6 separate regions of the Homo sapiens genome follow, and regions 1, 2, 3, 5 and 6 are each linked to region 4. The links are contacts of gene promoters, found by promoter capture Hi-C in blood cells and fetal thymus (Javierre and others, 2016). All regions are on one chromosome and are shown on one strand. Each heading gives the region's core, a stretch centred on a gene start or on the middle of the fragment in contact. The rest is flanking DNA. Distances are from core to core; before and after follow the strand shown.

Region 1 (4,844 bases), core at 1,436-3,935, 290 kb after region 4:
CTCTCAAGGCACTTTCAGTATGTGAGGGAGATCTGGATCCTTCTCCCCGGAGAAGGGAGAATGATTATTGGATGATGAGATTGTGGTGCTGGAGAGGGCTCTCCCCTCTCCCTAAGATGTCCACCCCTCACCTGACTGGTTACCTTTTTTAGAAAGGAGGGAGGTTAGCTCCTGGGCGTGGGCATTCCCAGGACCCAGAACACTGCTGAGGGGGTGCCACCTGTTGGCAGCTCCCACTCTAGTCCTGCTATCTCAGCCTGCTGTTTGTTTTCTCTGGAGTTTTTGCACCAGCCAGAGGGCAGCCATCTTTGCTGTTGGAACTCTTCTTATCAGACCACATTTCATGTCTGTGGCCGCTCGGCATCTATAGGGATAAGTAGTGAAGGGACTGCCATGGCTTGCAGAATCGCAGGTGTCTTCTTCGACCCCAGGTGCTTCATACGGTTCTTGCTTTGTGTGTTCTGTGATTTGGCTGCTTGGGACTGCTTCTGAGAGTCCCCATTTCAGTCAGGCTCTCCCAGCAGGAGAGACCTGTCCAAGTGTGCACCTACTCTGCCACCCTAGCATCCAGTGAAGCCACAGCAGACAAGAGCCCACAGAGCAAATGTCTACATGGACTGAAACTGCACACTCCTGCTGTGCCAGCACTCAGCGGCCTTGCTGACCTAGGGTGCAGCTAAAAGCTCATTCTCCAGAGCCTGAGTTCTTTGTGCTTTCCTGCCTACCATGTCATTCCACCCATAGAGGGAGGTGATAAAATATTCCAAATTTGAAAGGTAAAGAAAAGAGAATGTCACTGAGTGGCCTGAACCAAAGCTCATGGATACTGGAGATGAAGAACCAGCAGGAGACCCCAGGTGTGCTCTCATCCGTACTCTGTGACACCCCTTAGTGGACTGTTCCAACCAGTTGGGCCCGGGAGAAGGACTAGGGAAGCTTCCTTCCCATCTGCACCTCCCAGCCTGGAGAGGAGCCTGTGACTTGCCCTGTTCCTTGGCTCCTCAGGCTGGGGTAAGGTGTGGGGGTGGCTCCAGCCTTGAGGCCAGTCTCCTGATGCTGGATTCCTTGTTTTCCCTGCAGGCATCAAACAGAAAGGCCTTTTGCTAAGTAGCAGCCTGATGCACTCCGAGTCAGAGCTGGACAGCGATGATGCCATCTTTACATGGCCAGACCGAGAGAAGGGCAAACTCCTGCATGGTCAGAATGGCTCTGTACCCAACGGGCAGACCCCTCTGAAGGCCAGGAGCCCGCGGGAGGAGATCCTGTAGCCACCTGGTCTGTCTCCTCAGGGCAGGGCCCAGCACACTGCCCGGCCAGTCCTCCTACCTCCCGAGTCTGCGGGCAGCTGCTGTCCCAGCATCTGCTGGTCATTTCGCCCTGACAGTCCCAACCAGAACCCCTGGGACTTGAATCCAGAGACGTCCTCCAGGAACCCCTCAACGAAGCTGTGAATGAAGAGGTTTCCTCTTTAAACCTGTCTGGTGGGCCCCCAGATATCCTCACCTCAGGGCCTCCTTTTTTTGCAAACTCCTCCCCTCCCCCGAGGGCAGACCCAGCCAGCTGCTAAGCTCTGCAGCTCCCCAGTGGACAGTGTCATTGTGCCCAGAGTGCTGCAAGGTGAGGCCTGCTGTGCTGCCCGCACACCTGAGTGCAAAACCAAGCACTGTGGGCATGGTGTTTCCCTCTCTGGGGTAGAGTACGCCCTCTCGCTGGGCAAAGAGGAAGTGGCACCCCTCCCCTCACCACAGATGCTGAGATGGTAGCATAGAAATGATGGCCGGGCGCGGTGGCTCACGCCTGTAATCCCAGCACTTTGGGAGGCCGAGGCGGGCGGATCATGAGGTCAGGAGATCAAGACCACCCTGGCTAACACGGTGAAACCCCATCTCTACTAAAAATAAAAAAAAAAATTAGCCGGGTTTGGTGGCGTATGCCTGTAATCCCAGCTACTCGGGAGGCTGAGGCAGGAGAATTGCTTAAACCTGGGAGGTGGAGGCTGCAGTGAGCCAAGATCGTGCCACTGCACTCCAGCCTGAGTGACAGAGCAAGACTCCGTCAAAAAAAAAAAAAAAAAAAAAGAAATGATATCTGGCCCCCCCTTAACACTGGAGCCCCACTCCCTTCTCCCATCCGGCCCGAGATTAGGGAGGATTGACTGTGTCAGGGATGGCGGGTGGCCTCTCTCGCTGCCAGGGCCCTTGTCAGAGCAGCCAGGCTGGACAGACGGCCTCCCTCCTCTCCATCTGACCGGCACCTGCTGCTTCGGGGCTTAGGCCACCGCTCCCTGTCCCCAGAGGAGATAGCCCCAGATGGACTGGAATGTTGTGGCATGAGAGCGCATGTGTGCGATGGCCCCGCTGTGGTCCCCTCTCTGTCCCTCCATCTGTATGTGTTCTGTGTCCCTTGCATGTGTGCGTGTTAGAGTGAGCGCGTATGCATCAACTCATTGGGCTCTTGGCTGCTCACAAGGCAAATTTGACTTGGAAAGACTTTCATCTCCTTGGAACCAAGACTTCCTGAGTCCCCCTCACCCTGGCCCTGTTCCACCATGGTTATCTGGGTATTGGGGAATGGAAACTTTGGGGGAGTGACTTTTTAAAGAGACACTTATAATTTCTACTACTGCACTACTGTCCATTGTGGGATGATTAAACATGGTATTTAACTGTGCACTCTGTCTGCTGGGTGTGCTGCTTCACGCTACGTCTCGGACCCGTGCACAGCTCCCACCCCCTGGGCAGCCCTGTGAGGTCGTGTCCTCTGGCAAGGAAGTTTTGGGCCTGGCATCAGCACATGCAAGCAGTGGTGCTGGGCCCTGCCTGCCACTGGTGGGTGGGAGTGCACCACCCCAGTACCCCTGCTGGCTTTAAGGGAGGAGGGTTGATGTCCCTTCTTCCCATATCTTTTGTTAACACAAAAATGATCATGTCCACCTGTGACCAAGCTGGGGAGACACAGAGTGTCCTAAAGTCCAGGGTGTGGCTTTAGAAATTTTGACCACTCATCTTCCCTTTGGTGTTCCCAAATAGTAGAGGTTGGCCACATGCCCCCAAATGTGTTGACTGTACCTAGTTCACAGAGCACTTTGCTGGGTATGTGGCTTGGGAGGGCTGGTGCACAGCCTAGCACTCCCAAGACAGGGAGGACGGAAGGACCACTGAGCTCATGCTCCCTCCAGGGCCCTGGGCACAAAACCCTGCTGCAGGAGGGCAGCAGTGGCTGTTTTTACAGATCGAGAGCCAAGGCATAGTGAGATGAAGTAACTTAATCTACACACATGGTGACAGAGGAGAACTCAGGCCCGGCAGAGCCTTGCTCGCTCTGCAGCAGTCTCCAACCTCAAGACGAGAGGCTTCTTCAGACAGGTTGCTGGGTTTCTAATTCAGTAGGTCTGGGGAAGGGGGAGGACATAAGAATTTGCCTTTCTAACAGGTTCCCAGGAGATGCTGATGCGCTGGTCCTGGGCCTCCCTTTAGAACCTCTGGCCTAGAAGCACAGTCAATGCCGCATGAATAGGAACCAGCACATGTCCCATCCTGAGTGAGGGTGAAAGAAGTAAGTTTAGTAAAGGGAGGTCTCGAATCTGCCAAGGAGTGTCCTCCAAGCTAAGGGCACAGGTTTGCTCAGTTGACGGGTGGAGGTCGGGGGCAGTGTTGCAGCCCAAACACAGCCACAGCAGACAGGCTCTGTGGAGCGGAGGGCACTCCAGAGAGTGGCCAGATGAAAAACAAGTTGGCCCGCACACAGTGGAAGCCATTGGCAGCTCGGGCAACAGAACAGTGGAGCTGGGTACAGGCCAGACTGCACAGAATAGCTGGATGGGAGGCGATAAGGCCTTGGTGAGGTTGGTGCATCGGGAATAGCTTCAAAGGATTTGGGAAGGAACCGCAGGACCCGACCACTTACTAGCTTTGTAGTAAAAAAGGGAGGCTTCCCTTTTCCTCTGGGCCTCTTTTCTCCATCTTGTTTACCCTCAGCTACAACCCACTGAAGGATATATATACATATATATATTTTAGTTGGAATTTTGCTCTTAAATGGGGAGCTGAATCCTGGGAACACTGGCAATCATGATTTTTCTTCTTTTTTTGAGACAGAGTCTTGCTCTGTTGCCCAGGCTGGAGTGCAGTGGCGTGATAACTGCAAGCTCCGCCTCCTGTATTCAAGCAGTTCTCCTACCTCAGCCTCCCCAGTAGCTGGGATTACAGGCATGCACCACCACGCCCGGCTAATTTTTGCATTTTTAGTAGAGATGGGGTTTCACCATGTTGGCCAGGCTGGTCTTGAGCTCCTGACCTCAGGTGATTCACCCACCCGGCCTCCCAAAGTGCTGGGATTGCAGGCCAATCATGATTTTTCTTGGCATTTATTAGTTGGTTAAATAAAGCATTAAAAGAGAGAAAGTGCCATCCTGTTGGAGCAGTTGAAGCTTTTCCCCAGGTAATGCCCCTGTCTTCAAGTGGATCCTAGGAGCCTAGAATCCTCCCCCTCTGAAACCTGGGGCTCTATATGGGGGCTGTTGACAATTTCTATGCTTTCAGCCACGGTGCAGCACTCAGCCTTTTGTCCCCAACCCGCTTGCAAGTTCATGAGGCTAGACCCATAACTTCTGTTTTGCAACACTCTTACCTCTAACACAGCACAGATATTAAAACATCTTACGTGAGCTACATGATCTGGGAGTAAATGCCTCAGAAGTTTCTCATTCTGATTCTGTTACGTAGAAATAAAACAAACACACGAGTTTCAATAGCGTCAGATGAAAACAGTTCCTGTCTTGCTACCCATAATCTGTATGTTCCATCAGTGATTAAGGGACAGCAGTAGAGAAACCACAGAAACCA
Region 2 (4,332 bases), core at 733-3,232, 260 kb after region 4:
TGTATTTTGTTCATACTTCCTTTAATTCCCTTCTCAATCTGTTCAAGTTTTGCCCATCCTTAAGAACCTCCTCAATTTCCATGAGGTTCTCTGAGATCCCTCCAGACAGGAGAGAATATGGCTCTCCTCTTTCCCTATTGCACTCAGGGCCTCTATGTGGCATTTACCATAGTGTGACAGTTTATCCATGTCTATCTGTCTTCCCATGAATCTGAGATTAACCAAATTTTAGATGGTGCCAGAGACACAGAAATGAGTATCCTAGCACAATACCTACCATATAAATCAATATGCAACTTCTGACTTAGCAGGATTTCCATTGATTCAACACTTCAGGTGAATGAAAAGTAGCTGCCAGTACAACAAGATTGGAGCCTTCTACGTCGCTTAAAATGGACATTTGAGCTGGTTTTCACCTTAGATTTCTAATGTCGGAATTTTTCTATTTACAGAATTCAGCTTGGGCCAGGTTGATCCTTTTAAAACATAGTAACAATGATAGCTGATATTTCTTGAACATTTACTATGTGCTAAATACTATTCTGAGCTCTTTGCTGGCAGTATTGCATTTAATTCTTATAACAGGTATTATGGTTATCCTCATTTTACAGATTAGGAAATTTTGGCACAAAGAGTTTAAGTAACTTGCCCAAGGTCACACAGTCTAACTCTAGAGTCTAAGCTTTTAACCACAAGGTTAACCTACAGGTTTTTTAGTGGATGGGGTATGAGAGTGATTTTTTTTTCCTAACCTTCATTTTAAAAAAAATCTATGAAATGATATGATTTGATTTGATTAGCATTAAGGTTGTAATTCACTCACCTTTTCCTCTCTCTTTTACATGGCAGTAGCCTTTTTCCTCAGCCCTATAGTCAGCTGCTGTTTGGTTTCAGGATCTTTGCAGGCAAGCCAGGGACTGTTTGAGGTGAAAGAGAAAATGGGCAGCTGCCATTTTGCCGTCTGTCTATAAGGTGCTTTTGTCCTGACATAGGAGACAAATGGCATATGTTAAAAACAAAAAACAGGCTGGGCGCAGTGGCTCATGCCTGTAATCCCATCACTTTGGGAGGCTGAGGCGGGTGGATCATGAGGTCAGGAGATCGAGACCAGCCTGGCTAACAAGGTGAAACCCCGTCTCTACTAAAAATACAAAAAAATTAGCTGAGCATGGTGGCAGGTAGCTGTAGTCCCAGCTACTCAGGAGGCTGAGGCAGGAGAATGGCGTGAACCCAGTAGGCGGAGCTTGCAGTGAGCCGAGATCGCACCACTGCACTCCAGCCTGGGCGACAGAGCGAGACTCCGTCTCAGAAAAAAAACAAAACAAAAAAACCCAAACCTGTGAAAACAACAGAGAAACTAGGAAAAGAGGCAAAACTTCTGTAAATTTTTGTTTTTCAGATATCTGCTGATTGGTACATGTTTGTGTGTCTGAGGTTTTTGTGCTTTTTTCCTAAAGGCTGTAATACCAAAAATCCCCTTCACACCATAGGTAAAAGGTGAGACTGCAGGATAAAACCTCACTGACGTCTGGCCCTGTCTGTGGCTGGTGGTGAGATTTAAACAAACTACATGTCTTTTCTATGCTTTTCCTCTTTCTGTCAGCAAAATGGAAAGATCCCAAACCTCCTTGCTTGCTTATGCTCACATTTTGAGGTGGCATGAGAAGCTTTAGGCTGTTCAGCTGGAAGGCATCATTTAGGTAAAAGCCTGCTCTTATAAATGAACATTTTTTTTTATTTTCTTTCTTTCTTTTTTTTTTTTTTTGCAAATCCTGTGTCTCACTGGCACAAATTGTGGGACTGTTGCGTAGGAGAATTCATTTTCATCTCAAGCTCCTGCCTTACTGGAGCCAGCCCTCCTGGTTCGTCCCGCAGGCTGTCTGCCTAGGATGTCCATCGTTGTGATGTGTAAACAGCTGGAACAGGATGATGGGAAAACAGCCTGCTGCAGACGGAGCTTGCACTACATAGCGTAGGGAATCGGGAATAGGGACTAAGAATTACCTCTTCTTAAGATTTGGTTTCTGAGCTTTGGAATCAGAGAACTATGCTTGCATCTTGGCTCACTATATAGCCCTTGGGTGGGTTACTTAGCCTCTCTAAGCCTCTTATAAAACTGGAATCAATGATGCCTACTCTATATGGTTGTTATGAGGGCCATATCAGACAATTCTTATAGAGACCTCAGGACACAGATGCGTGCAGGCAGCAGCAGGACAAAATGGCGCTGGAGACATATTGCCTGGATCAGAACCTGACTCCACTGCTTTCAAGCTGTATGACCTTGGGCAAGCTTGCTTCCTTCCTTCCTTCCTTCCTTCCTTCCTTCCTTCCTTCCTTCCTTCATTCCTTCCTTCTTTCCCTCCCTCCCTCCCTCCCTCCTTCCTTCCCTCCCTTCCTCCTTCCCTCCATCTCTCCTTCCTTCCTTCCTTCCTTTTTCTTTTTTTTTTTAAATGAAGTTTCCCTCTGTCTCCCAGGCTGGAGTGCAGTGGTGCAATCACAGCTCACTGCAACGTCCGCCTCCCGGGTTCAAGAAATTCTCTTGCCTCAGCCTCCCAAGTAGCTGGATTATAGGCCTGCACCACCATGCCTGGCTAATTTTTGTATTTTTAGTAGAGATGGGGTTTCACCATGTTGGCCAGGCTGGTCTCAAACTTCCAACCTCAGGTGATCCGCACGCCTTGGCCTCCCAAAGTGCTGGGATTACAGGTGTGTGCCAACGCACCTGGCCTCTCTGTCTTTCTCCTCATATATGTGAGGAGTAAAATGAGGATGATACTTTATAGAATTGTTGTGAGGATTTAATGAGATATAAAGAACTTGGAGCAGTGCCTAGCACATCATAAAACTTCAGTCAGTGTTAGCTTCTAGTAGTACTTTCTGCTTCTCCAATAGAAGTGGGTAAGAATAGGTAACCTTGCCACATTGGTATTTCTTAGCCTTAATTTTCAGTCTTCTAGTGTTTATTCCTCTTTCCTTAAACCCGTCCCTGATCACACTCCTCTCTCTGCCCTGATAGCTTGACTGTAGTAGACTCTGATGGAGCTACCAACTCTACTACTGCAAACCTGACAGTGAACAAAGCTGTGGATTACCCCCCTGTGGCCAACGCAGGCCCCAACCAAGTGATCACCCTGCCCCAAAACTCCATCACCCTCTTTGGGAACCAGAGCACTGATGATCATGGCATCACCAGCTATGAGTGGTCACTCAGCCCAAGCAGCAAAGGGAAAGTGGTGGAGATGCAGGTAGGAGGGAATGGTTCCTATTTTTTCTTGCCCAAGAGAAGTAGAGCTGCTGGACTGCATTTTTAGAAACCTCCAAACAAACTGAGAAAGCTTTAGGGGCCTTTGATTAACGTGGTAGCAAAAATCTTTATCTTGGCCGGGTATGGTGGCTCACGCCTGTAATCCCAGCACTTTGGGAAGCTGAGGCGGGCGGATCATGAGGTCAGGAGTTCGAGACCAGCCTGGCCAACATTGTGAAACCCCGTCTCTACTAAAGATAAAAAAATTAGCCGGGCGTAGTGGCGTGCGCCTGTAATCCCAGCTACTTGGGAGGCTGAGGCAGGAGAATCCCTTGAACCTAGGAGGCGGAGGTTGCAGTGAGCCGAGATCACGCCATTGCACTCCAGCCTGGGTGACAGAGCAAGACTCCATCTCAAAAAAAAAAAAAAAAAAAAAAAAATTATCTTAAATGTTTAGTATTAGAGGAAAAGGCTGAGAAATGTTAGTTGTTCTGGATGACTCCAGAGAGTCAAACTATTTAGAAGCTACAAGGGTGCAAATCTTAGTGAGCTCTATAACAAGTTAGAGTAGATTGGCTAGATGGTGAGTATCTTCTCTCTAGAGATGCTTAAGAAGAGAGACTAGATCTGTCACCAGGCAGGTAACATAAAGAAAGAAAACTGGATGGTGGCTGTGCTGAACTTAAGCCCTGACTAAAGGAGTCATCTACTCTTCAGGTCCAGCTGGTTGTTGCCACATGGAAGGATGGTCCTAACATTGCTTGATAACCCAGCTTTTCAAGAGAAGAAAGAAATTGAGACCTTTATGTGAAAATTTCCAATATGAGAGACACCACAGGCCAAAAAAAATATTTGCAAGCTGGATTCAGCCCATGGGCTACTAGTTTTTGCCTACTGCTCTACAGGAAGTTCCTGCATTGGAAGTTTGCCCAAAATTATTTATAATGTCCCTCAAGATTCTATATTTCTCAGTTTTAAGGCCTCCCTTAAAGCCTCCATTTTACCTGACTTTTGTTTAAATGTTATGTTAGGTTGTTGCAGAACCTGTACAGACCTGAAGGAGACAGTATGGTGTTATACAGCAT
Region 3 (4,903 bases), core at 438-2,937, 350 kb after region 4:
CCTCAAGTATCTACCCGCCTCAACCTCCCAAAGTGCTGGGATTACAGGCATAAGCCACCATGCCCACCTCTTTATCTTTCTCTAAATAGTGAATTCCTTTCATTTGCCATTGATAAATATATCAAATTCTTAAAAAATAATGTCTGTTTTTGGGCTATCTCTTCTATATCATTTTCAGTCTGACTAATCTTATGATATCATGCTATCCTAACGAAACTAATTGTAGGATACTTATGGCCAGACGTGGTGGCTCACACCTGTAATCCAATCACCTTGGGAGGCCGAGGTGGGTGGATCACCTGAGGTTAGGAGTCTGAGACCAGCCTGGCCAACATGGTGAAACCCTGTCTCTACTAAAATTACAGAAATCAGCGGGGTGTGGTGGTGCACGCCTGTAATCCCAGCTACTCAGGAGGCTGAGGCAGGAGAATCGCTTGAACCCAGGGTGGTGGGAGGGCAGAGGTTGCAGCGAGCCAATATTGCACCATTGCACTCCAGCCTGAGCAACAAGAGTGAAACTCTGTCTTTTAAAAAAAAAAAAAATTAATTAATTGTATGATGTTCAACCATTTAACAGCATTTGCCACATTCAACCTCTCCATCCATTTTTTAGAATATATGTGTAATAAGTGTGTGTATGTGCATGCCTATTATTCTTCTACAAAACTTCATAACCTAACCATTGATATTTTCATCAGAATTGCATCAAATCTAAATCTCAATTTTTTTTTTTTTTTTTGAGATGGAGTTTCACTCTTATCCCACAAGCTGGGGCACGATGGTGCGATCTTGGCTCACTGCAACCTCCACCTCCCAGGCTCGAGTGATCCTCCTGTCTCAGTCTCCCGAGTAGCTGTGATTACAGGCATGCACCACCACGCCCGGCTAATTTCTGTAATTTTTGTATTTTTTAGTAGAGACAGGGTTTCACCATGTTGGCCAGGCTGGTCTTGAACTCCTGACCTCAAGTGATTCGCCCCCCGCTTGGCCTCCCAAAGTGTTAGGATTACAGGCGTGAGCCACCGCACCTGGCCTTAAATCTTAATTTAAAAATAACTGACATCTACATATTTCTTACATTTAAAAAGATGGTCTCTTCATTATTTCAAGTTGTATTTGATATAAGTACTTTTTAGTTGCTGCTGGGAATAGTGTATCTTTTTCATTATATCATCTAACTGGGAAGTTTATTTATAGAAGTATTGGTATAATTCAACTAGGTACTCCACTAAATTTTCATGAATTCTATTAATTCTTTCATAAATATTCTTAATAGCAAGTGATAATTTTATTTCCCTTTTTCCATTATTTTTTCTTCTAATTTCTTTAACATGGATTGAAGTAAAAATCCAACAAGAGTTAAATAATAACGATGACATCCGCAACTTGTATTCTTTTAGTAATATTAACAGAAGATTTCCATCATTTTACTTCAACTTCAATAACTGTTACTGATCTGAAGTAGTAGTTCCTTACTATGATCAAGAAAAAATCTATTCTAAGAAATGTCTGAATTACATGAGATGTCTTTTGGCATCTAATAAAGTGACTATTACAGATACCCTTATTTGACCTGCTGATGAAATATATGTATTAAAAGATTTTCTAACATCGACTAATCATGACATTCCTTCATTATATAGTGTATTAAAGAAAATTTCCTTAAATATTTTTATTTTAATCTCAGAAAACTCCAGAAACAACCAATACTCATTGGCATACATTAACGGTCTGCAGTCAGCTCTCTTAGTCTCTGTGATGGCTATTGCAAACTTCTGCTGGATTCCTTTAGCCTTGAGTACGTATTATTTATGTAATATAGTAAAATAGTATACATCTTAAGTACTGTTTGTATGGTCCACAATGCCTTCAAGGCACAATCATGTTTGGTTTATGTTTGGATCCTCCCATGATCACTAATTTTACAAGTATTTGATAAACAAATCAATGAGTAGCCAAATACTAATAAATATTTTCTGAGAAGTAAATATCTAATTGGTAACCCAAAAGCTTTCAGAAGCAGAAAAACACATGCCAAAACACAAAAAAATTCCTTTACCAATACCTTTACCTTCTTAGTTTACTACAAATGAAGATCAATATTAATATCCCATGAAAGTATTTTAGAAATGAATAACACAGTTTCTATTGCCAAATTAACTCAATATGGCTAAAAGAGCCCCAACATTTGAATTACTACATTTTCTTTCCAAAACTGTGTGAATGACTATTATGACAATTAGTTCATTTGCTTTCCCATTTTAATTGAGTTCTTTCAATGAGAGACTACACATTAGCTCGTCCTCTATTATTATGAACAAGAAGAAAAAGAAATCATGACTTTAATGTAGTATTTACTGAATGTACAGTTTTTAGACCCTATGGAAAAGGCAAAAGAGGAAAATGAGGTCTCTGGCTCTCTTTAAAGTATCTATTTTGAAACCTTCCCTTGGTATTTTTAAAATTAAACAACTTTTATTTACAGAAAGATTGGTAGACTAAAAAAAAAAAAAAAAAAAAAAAAGACTTTGATTATGACCCCAGATTGGCTCCTTCCTGGCCATGAGGGCTTGAGTAACTAAATCTCTATATCTCTCAGCTCTCTCACCTATAAATGTTAACATCCTCTACTCTGGCCATCTTATACAGGGTTGTTAGGCGAATTAAGCAACACAGTACGTGTAAAAGCATCTGTAACTGTAAAAATACTACAGAAAACATTATAGAAACATGCAATAGAATTAGAATGAAGAAATGAAACTGTGAGACCCAATGACATTATGCCAGTAATAGAGGCAGGAGGACGGACAATGACTGGCAAATCCAGAATATCATAACTGAAGAAATAACCAAGAGCAAATGGGTAGAGGAAGTTAAATACATACACACACATTTCAGCACCTTGTTTATATAGTAAAGTAAAGAAATTAGGACCAAAATGAATTGTGTAAAAAAGAGAATTAGGAAGTGAGCTAAAAGCAAAACTACCTAAATTAAGCACAAAGAAAAGCCAAAGGAAGTTTTGAAAAGGTGCCATAAACTAAAGCTATGATTTTATTGAACCATGAAAGAAGTTACTGGTAACTGATGGTCAAAAGTAAACACTGACCACAACTGTAAAATCTATCAGTATTTTATGAGAGGCTAATAGTACTTTTTTGAGACTAATAATATAATACACTAGAGTTCTCTTTTCCAGTCCATGGGAAATGAATAAAAGTAATAAATTATGCAATTTTGAAAGGCAATACTCTTCTAAAAGAAGGAGGGAAGGTGGAGACGGGTGTGGAAAAGACAAGAAAAAGAAAAGAAGGAAAGAATCACATATCTAGTTTATAACATGAGAGCTGCTCTGGGGGATTTCTAGAAGAATTATCAAAGGTCTGATCCTATAGGACTGGTATTGCTGACAACAAAAAGGACTCCTCAGGGAAAACCTAGCTCTATCCACTCACATACTACAAGTCCCTTATTGTGGGGTCAGGGTAAAGAATGCTTTTGGATCTTATGCCCAGGACCTACTCACATTACTGCTTAATTCTCAAGTCCAATCAATCAGGGAGTAAGCCTTTGGGGAAGTTCTTCCCATAATCATGATGAAACTTCATATTCATATTCAGTATTTGATAACACATTTTATAATTCTGAATAAGTATATAAAAATTTAAGTGTTTCTATCTGTTCCATCCTATTTATATTCTCCAGCCACTGGAACCTCTGATTGTTCTGAAAACAACAATACTAATAACCTTCTCAGTGTTCTCTACCCCTATTGTATTTGGTTTATGCTCTAAGTGCCTTTTTGTCCCAAGGAAGTGTCACATGGTTCAAGTACAAAAGAAAGAGATGATTTTGGTACCCTGCCAGCATGCCCACATTGGGGCAGGAGAAGAGATACAAGATCTGCCCTTCATATAGACATGGCTGTAGTCTTCTGAAGCATATACTGCCACATGAACTTTCCCCAGGTGTTGGGACATCTATTTATCCCTAATTCAGATATCTAAGATCTCCATTACCTGCTTCTATAAACATGCTTTTATTTACCTTCTATTTAAATAGAACAGAAAAATCTATTTATATTCCTTCTACTTTCTTCTTTGTAGCAAGTATACTCATATCCATCCAACTCCTATAGCTTTATCACTACCCTAACACATCCAACTTCCACTGAACGTCATGGAATTCATGCTAACTGAGCATCAATTTGACTCAGTGACTCACATGAATCACCAACCTCTGCAATCTCCTATTCTTCCATCTGCTTACTCTAATACAATGGTTCTCAATAGATCATTTTTTGTTAAAATTGGCAAGGGAGGAGGCTGCTACTGGCATGTAGTAGGTAGAGGCCACAAATGCTTACTAAATGTCCTGCAATGCACAGGACATTTCTTCACAACAAAGAATTATCTGGTCCAAAATGTCAATGCTGTGGAGTTTGAGAAATCCTGTCCAAAAACATCTAAATGAAAAATGCACTTGACCAGGCACGGTGGCTCACGTCTGTAAACCCAACACTTTGGAAGGCCATAGCAGGAGGATCGCTTGAGCACAGAAGTTAGAGACAAGCTTGTGCAACTTACTTTACCAAAAAAAAAGTCTCACTCTGTCATCCAAGCCGGAGGGCAGTGGCACAATCTCAGTTCACTGCAACCTCCACCTCCTGGTTCAAGTGATTCTCCTCCCTCAGCCTCCGAAGTAGCTGGAATTACAGGCACCCGCCACCATGCCTGGCTAATTTTTTGTATTTTTAGTAGAGATGGGATTTCACCAGGTTGGCCAGGGTGGTCTGGAACTCCTGACCTCAAGTGATCTGCTGGCTTCAGCCTGCCAAGTGCTGGGATGACAGGCGTGAGCCATCACGTCTGGCCCCTCTACAAATCTTTTTTTAATTCGCCAG
Region 4 (4,351 bases), core at 1,550-4,049:
GGCACAGTGGCTCACACCTGTAATCCCAGCACTTTGGGAGGTCAAGGCGGGCAGATCATTTGAGGTCAGGAATTTGAAATCAGCCTGACCAACATGGTGAAACCCTGTCTCTACTAAAAATACAAAAATTAGCCGGGTGTGGTGGCACGCGCCTGTAACCCCAGCTACTCGGGAGGCTGAGGCAGGAGAATGACTTGAACCTGGGAGGCGGAGGTTGCAGTGAGCTGAGATCGCGCCACTGCACTCCAGCCTGGGTGACAGTGAAACTCTGTCTTGGGAAAAAAACAAAACAAAACATGGTGATAGCATCATGGGAGGAATGTTTCTTCTAACCAAGAAACACAAAGATGATTCCCTGGGATTTCGGCTCCTGGTAGCACTAGAGGAATAGGAGAAGGGGGTGGTCTCAGTGTAGACTGGACTGATCATGGCTACCAAGGAGAAAGGGAGTTACTGTTACCTAATAAGTGTTGAGAGGTGCGTGAATGGAACCCAGAGACCCTGGGGTCACCACCTTGTGCTATTGTAGTAATCAGCATTCTTTCAATTGTCGGTGAAAGAAATTCCACTCAAGTTAGGCTTGGCAAAATAAGGCATACAAAACTATAAGTTTAGATGCAGGAAACAGGGTCTGCAACATTATCAGAACTATCTCTCATCTCTGTTTCTTCCCTGCCTCGTCTTCCTTTAATTTCGTTTCAGAAGATCCCAGAGAAGGACTCTGACTGGCTCACCTGGAGTGGAGCTCCTATCCCTGGATTCTTCAGGCTTTCATTTGACCCACATGGTTAAGCTGGGAGAGACAGAGTCCAAAGAGAGGCGGAGAAGGGCTATTCTGGGCAGAACAAACAATTGATGACTTTATGGCTCTGTGGTCTGGGCAGAACTGCATAACCCTAGATCACCAAAGCTGAGAGCCTTTAGGAGTGAGGATTTGGGCCAGGCATGGTGGCTCACGCCTGTAATCCCAGCACTTTGGGAGGCCGAGGTGGGTGGATCACAAGGTCAGGAGATCAAGACCAACCTGACCAACATGGTGAAACCCCATCTCTACTAAAAATACAAAAATTAGCTGACGTGATGCATGCACCTGTAATCCCAGCTACTCAGGAGGCTGAGGCAGGAGAATCGCTTGAACCCGGGAGGTGGAGGTTGCGGTGAGCCGAGATTGCGCCACTGCACTCCAGCCTAGGCGACAGAGCGAGACTCCATCTCAAAAAAAAAAAAAAAAAAAAAAAAAGTGAGGATTTGGGTCACCCCAGGCTGAAGGCCAGGGGAACCTGAAGTGGATAAGGGAAGGGAGAAGACTTAGGCCACAGGATCTGATGTAGAAATGGGGCTGACGTCTCCACCTGTATTTTCTTAGCTGGAGGAGTGTGCAAAGTTTGAATTACTTCTGCCTTCTCCTTCTTATTTCCTTTTCCCTTTTAAAATAGTCATCATAATCATAAAAATTTCTTTTCCATTTTCCCTGTTTTTGCATATAGGATTTCTTGGTGTGATTTAATTTGCCAATTAGTCTCTAGGTTGCAGAATGGTGACTTGGAATCAAATTGAAACTGGAAGAGGGCACCTCATATATTAGGGTCAGCAATTACTGAACTCTGTTCTCTTTTATTCCAAACAGGGCCCCCAACTTCACATTTCCCCAGGGTGCAAAAGAGTGAGGGGGGTCAAGCTTCAGTAGAGTGGAGCTCTGAGAAGAATCCACTGGAGTTTGGAACCCAAGACCCTTTTTTATCACGCTGTTCCTCCTCACCTGGGCAAAAGCACTGGTACCCACTTCACAGGCATCATGGGTGGGCTCTGTGTCCTGCGGAGAGCCCCCGTCCCGGGTACAGGACATCAGCCCTGAGCCCTGTCCCAGGCTTGGATCTTCTTTCTCTCTCTCTCTTTTTTTTTTTTTTTTTTTTTTTTTTTTTGAGACGGAGTCCCACTCTGTTGCCCAGACTGGAGTGCAGTGGTGCAGTCTTGGCTCACTGCAACCTCCACCTCCCAGGTTCAAGCGATTCTCCTGCCTCAGCCTCCCAAGTAGCTGGGATTACAGGCGCCCGCCACCAAGCCCGGCTAATTTTTGTATTTTTAGTAGAGATGGGGTTTCACCATGTTGGCCAGGCTGGTCTCAAACTCCTGACCTCAGGTTATCTGCCCGCCTCGGCCTCCCAAAGTGCTGGGGTTACAGGCGTGAGCCACCGCACCCGGCCTCAGTGACTTTAGTCAAGTAAGCACAAAAAGGAATATATAATTCCAAATTGTGATAAATGCTATGAAGAAAAGGAATGTGCTCTGACATAAAGGGGGGAACGAACGTGATCTAGGGAGTCAGAGATCTCTCCGAGAAGAGATCTGAAATAGGAGTAAGTCGAGAGGGGGAAGAGAATGCTAGACCGAGGGAACAGTGCGTGCCAAAGCCGCGTGGCGGAAAGGGGCGTGTGGGAGGGTAACTGCGGAGAGGGAGGGTAGAGGACGAAGCCGGAGAGGCAGACGAAGGGCAGGACGCACAGAGCCCCGCGGCTACCGCCTTAGGGGTTGTCCCGGCGGTGGGGAAGCCATTGAGGAGTTTAACGCCGGAAGGTGGTGACTAATCAGATTTCACTTGAAAATGGCACGGTGTCTGCAGCGAGGCTAACTGATGGGAAGGGCCCAGCGAATGCCAATAGGAGAGAGCACCGGACCTGGAAGGCCTGGGTCAACGCGGCCCCGCGCGGGGGCGAAGCGGTTCCGGCGCAGGGGCCTGGCGCGGGGCTCCGCGGAAAACCGAACCGGCCCACGTGGGACCGGTCGCTCCGCCCTGCTGCGCAGACGCCGCCTGACTCCGCAGTCCGGGACTGGGGCTGGGCGCGCTGCCCGGGAGCCCCGCACCCACGCCTGGACCGCGGAGACGCCCAGGCCGAGGAACCCCCAGCCCAGGGACTAGACACCACCAGGGCCGGGCGGAGCCAGAGCCAGACGCGCCGGAGCGGGCGCCTCTACGCCGTGAGTCCGAGTCTGGGGCCCGAGGCGGGGTGGGGCTTGGGGCTCAGCCGCGGGAAGCGGGGAGTCACAGTGGCCTCCTTCGAGGAGACTAGGGAAGGATGGTCTCTGTCTCCTGGGGTGGTCTCCCACTCCCGCAAGGCCAGAAAAGGAGGCTGCCTCCTGTTTGGGCGGAGACCTAGTCCTGGCGTGTCGGGGTTCTCATTTTACTATCTCTGAGAACCCTGTGATCCCTAGCGCCACCCCCACCCCATCCCAGCTTCCTTCACGGCCCCATCCAAGTATAGGAAAAATAAAAAATTGGGGCGAGGGGAGATCTCTAGGCACCTTCCCACAAGCCTTGCTTAGAGGGCGATTAGAAACGAACTGTTCCTACACCCTTCTCCCCAGGACTTCTCTGCCCATTGCTGGGGGTGGGGAGGGTCCATGCCACCTATGGAGCGCCTTCCAGTGCCGGCTCCACTTACAATACCCTTCCTCTTCATGCTCTTCAATTGTTCTAATCCCAGTGCTGTTTGGTCAGTAGAATCCCTTTGTCAGTTCAAATCCTAATTTTGGTTAGAAGCAGGTTATGGAGGAGAGAAGAGTGGTGTGGTATGCCCTCCCTCCAGGGCCTCAGAATGGAGCAAGCTAGGGACGGGGACCGCAAGATAGTGGCTGTGTTCCAGAGGCATTGGGAGGGAAGGGGGCAGGCTCAGAAGAAAAGCTTGTCACTGGGGAAGGCGGGGCTCCCTGGCTGGGGTAGGAAAGGGAACCAAACCCAGCTCTTCCAGAACCCAGCTCTTCCAGCCCTGGGGAGTCAAGAGTGGATTCCTGAGCATGGAAATTCACTGCAGTCTCTTCTCCCATTCACTCACTTAGCAAGTACCTGTATGCACAGACAGCCTGGTTCAGGGCTCTATGCTGGCTGACTCTGGGGAATATGATGGAGGATATATACAGGAGGTCCAAGCCAGATTACAAACTGCTATTACAAGATCATTACCACAAACCAAAAATGCCAGTTGAATAGACATTCACTGATCGTCGACCATGTATGCCAGGGACGGATGCAAAGTTGGATAAGACAGTGTATACCCAGCGCAGTGGGGACCCAGAGGAAGGCATAACTAACCGTGCTTGTTTATGTAATATTGATTGGGGCAGTATCAAGACGGCTTCAGAGACATGGGGACATGGAAACATGGGGATATTACAGCTAATTTTGAAGTACAAAAAGGAATTTGCTGGGTGGAGAAGGGAGGAGCTTTGAGGGGAGGGGAGAGGAAGGATATTGTAGGCCAAAGGAATACTGTAAGAAAAACAATGGTGTGTTTTGAGATCTCTGGGCAGTTTGCTATGATGGGAGGGGCAGAGTGGCAAGAGGCAGGTATGGAGG
Region 5 (4,728 bases), core at 1,946-4,445, 310 kb after region 4:
GCCTGTAATCCCAGCACTTTGAGAGGCCGAGGCGGGTGGATCACCTGAGGTCAGGAGTTCGAGACCAGCTTGCCCAATATGGTGAAACCCCGTCTCTATTAAAAATACAAAAATTAGCCAGGCGTGGTAGCACATGCCTGTAGTCCCAGCTACTTGGGAGGCTGAGGCAGGAGAATTGCTTGAACCTGGGAGGCGAAGTCTGCAGTGAGCTGAGATCACACCACTGCACTCCAACCTGGGTGACAGAGTGAGACTTCATCTCAAAATAAATAAATAAATAAATAAAAATCAATTGAGAGCACAAAGTGGGTTACATATATATAAAACTAAGCAAACAGGACACAGACATTAGGTGAAAAAGATAATCTTAGTAAATGAACAATTCAGAAAAAAGTTTATACAAAGTTGAACATCACAAATACAGATTTTAGTTTCAGTGATTTAAATTCTCACATTCAAAAAATGTATTTCACTCTCAGAAACTGATTTTGGGAAGTTCAGGACTTATGATTCTATTCAAAAAATAATAAATTTAATTTCTAATCCTATAATACCAAGATTAAGTTTCTGAACATTAAAAACAAACTTATTTAATAGGCTGTTTTTGAAATGCAAGACAATAAACCTTCTAATAAAATTGTCACTGCTATTATTCTATTGTGTACAAAAGCAGTATATTGTAGGTCAGCTTTTAAGTTCCTTCAGAATTTCACAATGTTAACTAAAAAGAGGGGCTCTGGTCAAAAAAAGATTTAGAAACAATGGACTAAAAGTTCTGCAGGTTTCGTTTAACTAGTGATTGACTCATCTGGGGCTAGTAAATTAGTGATTCTCAACCCTGTTTGTATTTTTTAATTTCCTGAGAAGTTTTAAAATGCAGGCTATTTGAGCTCTGCCCAATTAAATCAAAATTTCTAATTTAAAAGCCAATGAAAGTATATTGAAGCACGTGATTCCTCTCACTTTGAGGCCAGCCTTTGACCACTCTCTGACAATAGAGAAAAATATTCAAATGTTAAAGGTACACTCTTTCACGTCTAGCATTTATAATTACCTTTCTGCAGTAACTCTCTATTTTAGTACTACTACTAAGACTTCAAAGAGAAATCTGACAAACAGTATCCCGTACCTGGTTCTGACTCCTGCTTCTGTAAAGGTGGGAAGAACCTCAGATATGTCATCTTGGTACTGTACTTCAGAGTCCTGGTCCGTCTCATCACATGGGCAAAGGAAAGCTTCAAGTGCTCAGTAACATTCTTTAGTTGGAAGTATTTGGTATTGAAGAAAAGGAGGGTGTTTAAAAGGACGATTGGTGAGTAAGCGCCCAGCTGTTTGCACTCCCACAAATGCTCTTCCTCAATGCGAGAGAACATGTAACCTAGACAGAAGAAGGGGTACAAGAAACAGTACTGAGCTCCTGCTAAAGTAGACTAAGTAATCTCTCAAATTCTAAGACAGGGAGATATAAAGAGAAAAACTGACTATTCCTCTTTCCCCTCTTCCTTATGCAGAAAACCAGAAAACGCACCACAAAGAAAAAGGCAGATGATTCCACTCAAGTAGACACCGTTCGTGGAGTCTCCTGAAACCGTTTTAATCTATTGATATTTTAGATTAGGGGTTAAGCTGTCTTTATAAAGGGCCAGAAAGTAAATATTTTGGGATGTGTAGGCCATATAGGCTCTGAACAACGCTGTTGCTGTAGAAACTAAGGAGCTGTAGAGAACACATAAACAGGCAGAGCTATATGCCAGTAAAATTTATTTATAGTCATATAATTTTCTTTTCTTTTTTTTGAGACAGGGTCTTACTCTGTCACCCAGGCTGGAGTGCAGTGGCACGATCAGGGCTCACTGCAGCCTCAAACTCCTGGGCTCAGGTGCTTCTCCCACCTCATCCTCCTGAGTAGCTGGGACTACAAGGCACCACCACCATGCCCAGCTAATTTTTTTTATTTTTTGTAGAGACAGAGTTTCACCTTGTTGCCCAGGCTGATCTTGAACTCCTGGGCTCAAGTGATCCTCCTGCCTCAGCCTTCCAAAGTCACACCTGGGACCACAGGTGTGAGCCACCACACCCAGCCATGAATTTAATATAATTTTCACATGATGAAATAGGAATTCTTAAAAAAATTTCCCCAACTATTTAAAAATGTAAAAACAATTTTTAGCTCATAGATTGCAAAACAGGGAGCAGGCCAGATTTGGCCCATGGACCATAGTTTGCAAACTCCTGTTGGAGATCATTAAGCTTACTGTTAAAGGTGCTCTGCAGCCCAACAGAAAGGTGCATATATTACTAAGCATAACATTGAACCTCTTCATTCACCTCAGCCTGAGACCTGGAGTGAATTATGGACTTGTCTGATGACATCTGGTCAAAGATAATTCAAGGACGAGGACTTAACTCTCTTAACAACAGTTCAGTATACATACAAACTACCAAAAAAGGTCCACTGTTAGCAGATATGATATGTGAAAGCTACACCAATGCTACCAGATCAAAAATGGTTTCTAAAAAGGTAAATGTAACTTCAAATTAGTTTATATTTTCTGCAATCAGTATCTATACATGTGCTATATGACTTGTACAGTTTTCCTAAAACAATCAACAATAAACCAAAGACCGTCTCCTCAGAAGTCCAAATATGGTATAAATCTGGACAGAAATAAAAATGAACAATTTTTTTAAAGATAACCAAAAAAGTTAAGCAATTTAAGAAAGCATATCATGAAAACAATAAAAAAAAAATCACCCTACCATTAGGAAGTATTGTAGGTTCCCATATTTTCAAGAGTTTGGTAAGTTCAATCATAAATCTGGAATAGGGCTCAGTAAAAATGTTATCTATTCTACCATTTTCAAACAGGTACTACAAGAAAAAAAAAAGAAAATATACATGTTGATAAAAAGAAAACATGAGTTCTTAAAAAATTATTGTAAGAAATACAGTTTACCCTTAATTTTTGCCCTTACAATATTATAAACCATGTTTAACCTCTCAGTACCTTAGAGATAGTTGTTAAAACACTAGAATTCAAGCTAAAGCTCCTGTTCTTATTAACACATTATCTTCAGCACTGACCTTGCAAGGTAAAGTTTTTGTACTTCGTTTTCAAACACGGATGGTACAGAAGAAGTATTATGAAGAACCCTTTACTTAGTTCCTAAAACTGACATACTAAAACTTGGTTCCAATGCACACGTTCCAAATCATGTTTTTCCTGATTCATAATGTGTATCTGCAGATGTGCTCTTTTGTTTTTTACCCTAGATACAAGATCATTTCTTGCAATCACACAGTTAGCTAATGTCAGTTGACCTGAGGAAACCCAAATTTAAAAACTATTTATTTGGAGCCTTCTAACTACAGCTCTCAACTCTGCCCCACAACCTAGCCCTCAAAAAAGTTCAAGTCTAATTATAGGACATTGAACTATGTTAATTATAACCATTAACAACCATATCATAGGCTAGAACAAAAAGAATACCTATAGTTTAAAAATGTATTGAGCCAGGAATGGTAATCCCAGTGCTTTGGGAGGCCAAGGTGAGAGGATCACTTGAGGTCAATAGTGCAAGACTAACCTGGGCAACACAGTGAGACCCATCTCTACAAAAAATTTAAAAACAAATAGCCAGGGGTGGTGGTGCATGCCTGTAGTCCTAACTGCTTGGGAGTCTGAGGCAGGAGGGTTGTTTGAACCTGGGAGTTTGAGACTGCAGCAAGCTATGATCATATCACTGCACTTCAGCCTGGGTAACAGAGCAAGACCCTGTCTCTTTTAAAAAGTACTGACGGCGCAGGTCAGATAAAATCAATTGAGACAGGGACACACCATGAGTAGTAACGGAATCCAAGGCAGCATGTAATTACGTGATAAAAGTATTTTGGTGTTTTTAAGGTTTAGTATTTTTAATTTATATTTCTGTGGCTATCTTGGTTTCTTGCATTTCTATGTATGATTTGGAGAAAATTATTTCCATTTAAATTTATTCTGGCTAACAAAAATTACCACTTCAATAGGCATTTTTATGAGGCCTCCTCAAAGGCAATTTATGAACTTATTGGCAGATTACAGTTTGTTGTTCAACAGTATTCCTCTTTTTCTTCTTTTAATATAGTCACTTTCAAGCTTAAAAATATATCTTCGTTATTGAAAAAGTTCAAAATAAAGAAAAAGTAGACTATTCAAACTCATTCAAACTCATCACACAAAGTCAACTACTATTCATATGCAAAAATATTTCCAATCTTTAAGAAATTCCATTATGCAGAAGTGAGTTTTGTACAGTTACAGAAATATATCAGTACATATAACGCAACATACATGTTTAAAAAAAGTCTCTTCCCCCTTAACCAGGAACAAGACAAGAATGCCTATCCTTGCCATTCTTCGTCAACACTGTACCGCGAATCCTAGCAGAGCAGCCAGGCAAGAAAAATAAATATAACGCATTCAAATAGGAAAGGAAGAAGTAAAATTATCTCTAGTTGCAGGTGACAGAATCCTATATATAGAAAATCTTAGAGAATACACAGAAAAATGAATTATTAGAGCTAATAAGTGAATCCAGCCAAGTTGCAGCATATAAGCAATACACAAAAATCAGCTGTATTTCAAGCTAGCAATGAACAATCCAAACAGGAAATTAAGAAAGTCCCGCCAGGTGCGGTGGCTCATGCCTGTAATCCCAGCACTTTGGGAGGCTAAGGCGGGCGGATCA
Region 6 (4,353 bases), core at 1,141-3,640, 450 kb after region 4:
TTCAGGGCAGTCATCCATATGGAGGAATAAGACAAGAGAAAACCATTTAGTGAGCACTGAAAAGTTAATCATAATTTTATAGAAGGATTCACAGAGCTTAAGTGACTAGTCCAAGATCATTCAGCACAGAGGCCAAGTCAGAATTCAAAGCCTTGTTCTTTCTGACTTATTTGAAATATCGTAAAGTAGACATTGTAAATTGGTGGCCTTGTGACCAAATCTGTCCCACAGAAATGCATTTGATTTGTATTGTGTATAGCTATATGATCTTGGTCAAGGTAATTGTCCTGTGCCTCACTTTCCTTATCTGTAAAATGGGACACCAAGAGGATTAAATTAGTTAACATCTCTAAATCTCCTAGAACACTGTTGGTTCCTAATACCATATGAGTATCATTATTATTATTATTATTATTTTTTGAGACAGAGTCTCACTCTGTCATCGAGCTAGAGTGCAGTGGCGCGATCTGGGCTCACTGCAAGCTCCGCCTCCCGGGTTCACACCATTCTTCTGCCTCAGCCTCCCGAGTAGCTGGAACTACAGGCACCCGCCACCATGCCCGGCTAACTTTTTGTATTTTTAGTACAGACTGGGTTTCACTGTGTTAGCCAGGAGGGTCTTGATCCCCTGACCTTGTGATCCGCCTGCCTCGGCCTCCCAAAGTGCTGGGATTACAGGCGTGAGCCACCGCGCCCGGCCATTATCTTTTTTTTAAAAAAAAAAAGTTAAATCATATATCAACATTTTAAATGGGATATTTCACCTACAAGTTCAGTGCTCTGACTTGTTTCAAAAAAAAAAAAAAAAAAAAACTAGACTATAATGGGGCTAGTATCTTGCAAATATCAAACAGATTTCTTTTAACTTTCTTAAGTCATCTTCTGTCATAGACTCTTGCTTGAAATGTAGCCTTGAGACTTATTTTCCCAATCAGGAGAGAACAGAATGGAGAGAAAAAGAATTTGCTAAATTTTCTTAGTTCCATTTAATCTATGAAGCTCAGCACATAATAATTTCATAGAGTTTTTACATACTCCACAGGAAATGCCTTCCACCCAAATATCCTTCCATCCAGGACAGCTAAGCCATGAGGCTGCATATAGGGAAATAAAAGAAAAGTCTGACTCTTTTAATAAAAGGGTAGAGAGAAGAAGAACAAAGAGAAAAGTAAGAGAGGCATCATTGAGAGACATGTGCTCCTGTCTTCCCATTCCAGCTCTTCAAGGCAGAGAGGATTCTTACTCTGCTCCTGTTTAAGATTCCAAGTAGAGATGACTTGCAGACTATGCCCATACCAACAAGCAGACAGCCACATATGAGCAAAAGTCATGCCCTGATGTAGTTGGGAAAAAAGAGCAGGTCTGCATTTAGCTCCTCAGAGTGTCTCTCAGCCAGAGATGAATCCAGGTTTTACAGATCTTGAAGCTTACATGATGGGGGGAGAGGGAGGGTTTTTTTGTTTGTTTGTTTTGTTTTGTTTTTAAGAAAAAGAACACAGAATTACATACACAAAATTAGGTACAGGGTTTTGGGCGGAGCTCTGCAAGTGAGTGGTCCTTAGCTCCTGCGAGAGAAGATATCCAGAAGTTCCCACATACCCTGTAGAAGAATACGGAAAGTAGCCAAGAATGCTGGCTGGCAAGTATAGGAGGAAGTAGCTCTGTAAATTACACTGGGCCAGGAACAAAAAGTAGTAACAGCCAGACCTCAGGAAGAGCTGTGTGGTTTGCCTTCAGGCTCTGAGCAAACTTAGCGAGGCCAGGCTACAAAACATTCCACTCTCTTAACAACAGGCTGTAGAGCATCCTGAGAGGTCAGGGACTCCGAATAGATTCAAGGTCTCAGGCTTCCCCAAAGTCATAATGCCTCATAAATGCAGACGTTATTTTAGATACTCACTCAGAGGGAGAGGGCAGCCACAGGAAAGATACAGTGTTTCTTTCCAAAAGAAATTATTAACTAACAGAATTCTAACCATTAGATTCAAATATGTTTTAAACTACATTGGACATTTAGGTAGATCCATTCAGAAAATGTTAGGAAGAAAGTAAAACAAGTGGGATAAAAAATAACTGTAGTGGGGCTACTTTAGATATGTTAGTCAGTGAATATTTTCCGAGGAGGTGACTTTGTTTTTCTTTTTCTTTTCTTTTGGAGGCAGGGTTTTGGCTGGGCACGGTGGGTCATGCCTGTAATCCCCGCACTTTGGGAGCCGAGGCAGGTGGATCACTTGAAGTCGGGAGTTCCAGACCAGCCTGGCCAACATGGTGAAACCCTGTCTCTACTAAAAATACAAAAATTAGCTGGGCATGGTGGCACATGCCTGTAATCCCAGCTACTCGGGAGGCTGAGGCAGGAGAATTGCTTGAACCCAGGAGGCAGAGGTTGTAGTGAGCCAAGATCGTGCCACTGCACTCCAGTCTGGGCGACAAAGTGAGACGCTGTATCAAAAAAAAAAAAAAAAAAAGAGGCAGGATCTTGCTCTGTCATCCAGGCTGGAGTGCAGTGTCACCTTCATAGCTCACTGGAGCCTCAAACTCCTGGGCTCAAGTGATTCTTCTACCTCGGCCTCCCAAAGTGCTGAGATTACAGCTGTGAGCCATCGCACCTGGCTAGGAGGTGACATTTGAACTGAAACTTAAATCATGACCTCATGACTGAGAGCCATCTGTGCAAATGTCTGGGTCAGAGCATTCCAGTCAAAGGGAGCAGCAAGTGTAAAACCCCTTGGCAGGAACAAACTTGAAGTGTTCAAGAAAAGCAAGGTGCCGATGTTACTAGGACCAAGTGAGATGGGGCAGAAGATGAAGTCAGAGAAGCAGACAAAGACAAATTATGAAGATCCTTGGATGCCATGGTAAGGATTTGTAATTTTCTGTGTATGATGTAAAGCCATTGAAGTCTTTGAAAAAAAAAAAAATGATGTGAACCCTCTGGATACCATGTGCATTGCAGAATAAGCCATAAAGGAGCAAGGGTGGATGTAAGTTACGAGGCTTTGTGGCAGTCCAGGTAAGAGATAACAATGACTTAGCCTAGGGCATTGGCGTTGGAGATAGTAAAAATTAGATTCAGAATATATGTATTTTGAAGGCGTAGCCCATGGAATTGCTGCTAATGAATTGGGTGCTGGGAGTGAAAGAAAAAGTGATTTAGGGATGATTCTTAGCTTTTTAGCCTGAATAGATAGGTTAATGCTGTTGCCCATTATTTGAAATGCAAAAAAAGAGAGCAGATGTGAGAAAGTGGGCAGAGAAAGAAGGAAGATGTCTTGGACATGATAAATTTGAGATGCCTCTAGACATCCAAGTGGAAATGTCGAATAGCAGTTAGATATTCAAATCTGAAGCTTAGGAGAGATAACAGGGCTAGAGATAGAAATATGAGAGTCATTGATATAAGCCATAGACTTGATAGAGTTACCAAGAGCACGTATATTGAAATGAATCCGGAGGCACCCCGACATTTACAGCTCAGGAAGAGAAAGAGAATCAGCCAAGTAGCAGGAAAGTCAGGAGAATTTGTGGTCTCAGTAACCAAATAAAGACTGTTTTGGGAGAGGCTCAATTACTAATTTTTCAGATGTCACTGAGAGGACAAGTAAGATGAGGCCCAAGAATTGATGATACGATTGAAAGATCTTTAGTGATCTGGACTAGAATTATTTCAGTGGATTTGTTTAAACATAAGCATGATTGGAGTGGCTGGAAGAGAGAATAAGAGATGAAGACATAGAAACAGTGAATGTGAACAATTCTTTCAAGAAGTTTCACTTTGAAAAAGATTAGAGAGATAGAGTGCTATTGGAGAGGAATGTGGCCCAAGAAATCTTTTTTTAAAAGATGGGAATCACTAATGCACATTAAAAATAGTAAACCATGACCAAATACATTGGAAAGGTCAAATAAATGACATGGGCCAGGCGCGGTGGCTCATGCCTGTAATCCCAGCACTTTGGGAGGCTGAGGCAGGTGGATCACCTGAGGTCAGGAGTTTGAGACCAGCCTGGCCAACATGGTGAAACCCTGTCTCTACTAAAAATACAAAAATTAGCTGGGCATGGTGGCAGGCATCTGTAATCCCAGCTACTTGAACCCGGGAGGCTGAGGCAGGAGAATCGGTTGAACCTGGGAGACAGAGGTTGCAGTGAACTGAGATTGCACCATTGCACCCCAGCCTGGGCGACAAGAGCAAAACTCCATCTCAAAAATAAATAAATAAATAAATAAATAAATAAATAAAATAAAATAAAGGACATGGCTTCCAAAACCTCTCCCTCCAAGCTGAGACAAACCATGGAGATGAGGCTGAGACAGTAGAGAAGAGCCAGGAAGTAGATAACCAGGCAGGTC

The links. Contacts are between HindIII fragments. The CHiCAGO score rates a contact against its expected background, and 5 or more counts as called.
Region 1: a fragment that was not itself captured here is called in contact with the fragment with the promoter of C1orf216 in region 4 in 1 of 17 cell types (endothelial precursors); the score reaches 6.9 in endothelial precursors.
Region 2: a fragment that was not itself captured here is called in contact with the fragment with the promoter of C1orf216 in region 4 in 4 of 17 cell types (total CD8 T cells, naive CD4 T cells, fetal thymus and 1 more); the score reaches 7.6 in total CD8 T cells.
Region 3: a contact is called between the fragment with the promoter of ZMYM4-AS1 here and the fragment with the promoter of C1orf216 in region 4, in 1 of 17 cell types (M2 macrophages). The highest score is 5.3, in M2 macrophages.
Region 5: a fragment that was not itself captured here is called in contact with the fragment with the promoter of C1orf216 in region 4 in 1 of 17 cell types (endothelial precursors); the score reaches 5.3 in endothelial precursors.
Region 6: a fragment that was not itself captured here is called in contact with the fragment with the promoter of C1orf216 in region 4 in 1 of 17 cell types (M2 macrophages); the score reaches 5.4 in M2 macrophages.

The regions. Positions count from the first base shown.
Region 1 is chr1:35,431,318-35,436,161 of GRCh38, reverse strand. It overlaps KIAA0319L (KIAA0319 like), which reads left to right. Exons shown (of 21, transcript NM_024874.5): 21 at 1,081-2,670. The coding sequence ends at 1,268. Among named protein-coding and RNA genes, the nearest start is that of ZMYM4-AS1, 68 kb to the right of the region's middle. The HindIII fragment of the contact is 3,493 bases long and covers 939-4,431 here.
Region 2 is chr1:35,454,929-35,459,260 of GRCh38, reverse strand. KIAA0319L (KIAA0319 like) reads left to right here. Exons shown (of 21, transcript NM_024874.5): 10 at 3,020-3,248. Among named protein-coding and RNA genes, the nearest start is that of ZMYM4-AS1, 91 kb to the right of the region's middle. The HindIII fragment of the contact is 626 bases long and covers 1,670-2,295 here.
Region 3 is chr1:35,362,861-35,367,763 of GRCh38, reverse strand. It overlaps ZMYM4-AS1 (ZMYM4 antisense RNA 1), which reads left to right and starts at 1,687. Exons shown (of 2, transcript NR_046659.1): 1 at 1,687-1,798. The region is part of intron 5 of ZMYM4 (zinc finger MYM-type containing 4); the gene reads right to left. The HindIII fragment of the contact is 9,120 bases long and covers 1-2,012 here.
Region 4 is chr1:35,717,332-35,721,682 of GRCh38, reverse strand. It overlaps C1orf216 (chromosome 1 open reading frame 216), which reads left to right and starts at 2,799. Exons shown (of 2, transcript NM_152374.2): 1 at 2,799-2,976. It also overlaps a transcript of CLSPN not described here. RefSeq lists silencers at 681-975, 2,638-3,067. The HindIII fragment of the contact is 2,001 bases long and covers 1,681-3,681 here.
Region 5 is chr1:35,412,116-35,416,843 of GRCh38, reverse strand. It overlaps ZMYM4 (zinc finger MYM-type containing 4), which reads right to left. Exons shown (of 30, transcript NM_005095.3): 27 at 2,761-2,872; 28 at 1,130-1,378. Among named protein-coding and RNA genes, the nearest start is that of ZMYM4-AS1, 48 kb to the right of the region's middle. The HindIII fragment of the contact is 1,886 bases long and covers 2,253-4,138 here.
Region 6 is chr1:35,262,433-35,266,785 of GRCh38, reverse strand. No RefSeq gene overlaps it. Among named protein-coding and RNA genes, the nearest start is that of ZMYM4, 4.1 kb to the left of the region's middle. The HindIII fragment of the contact is 1,924 bases long and covers 1,429-3,352 here.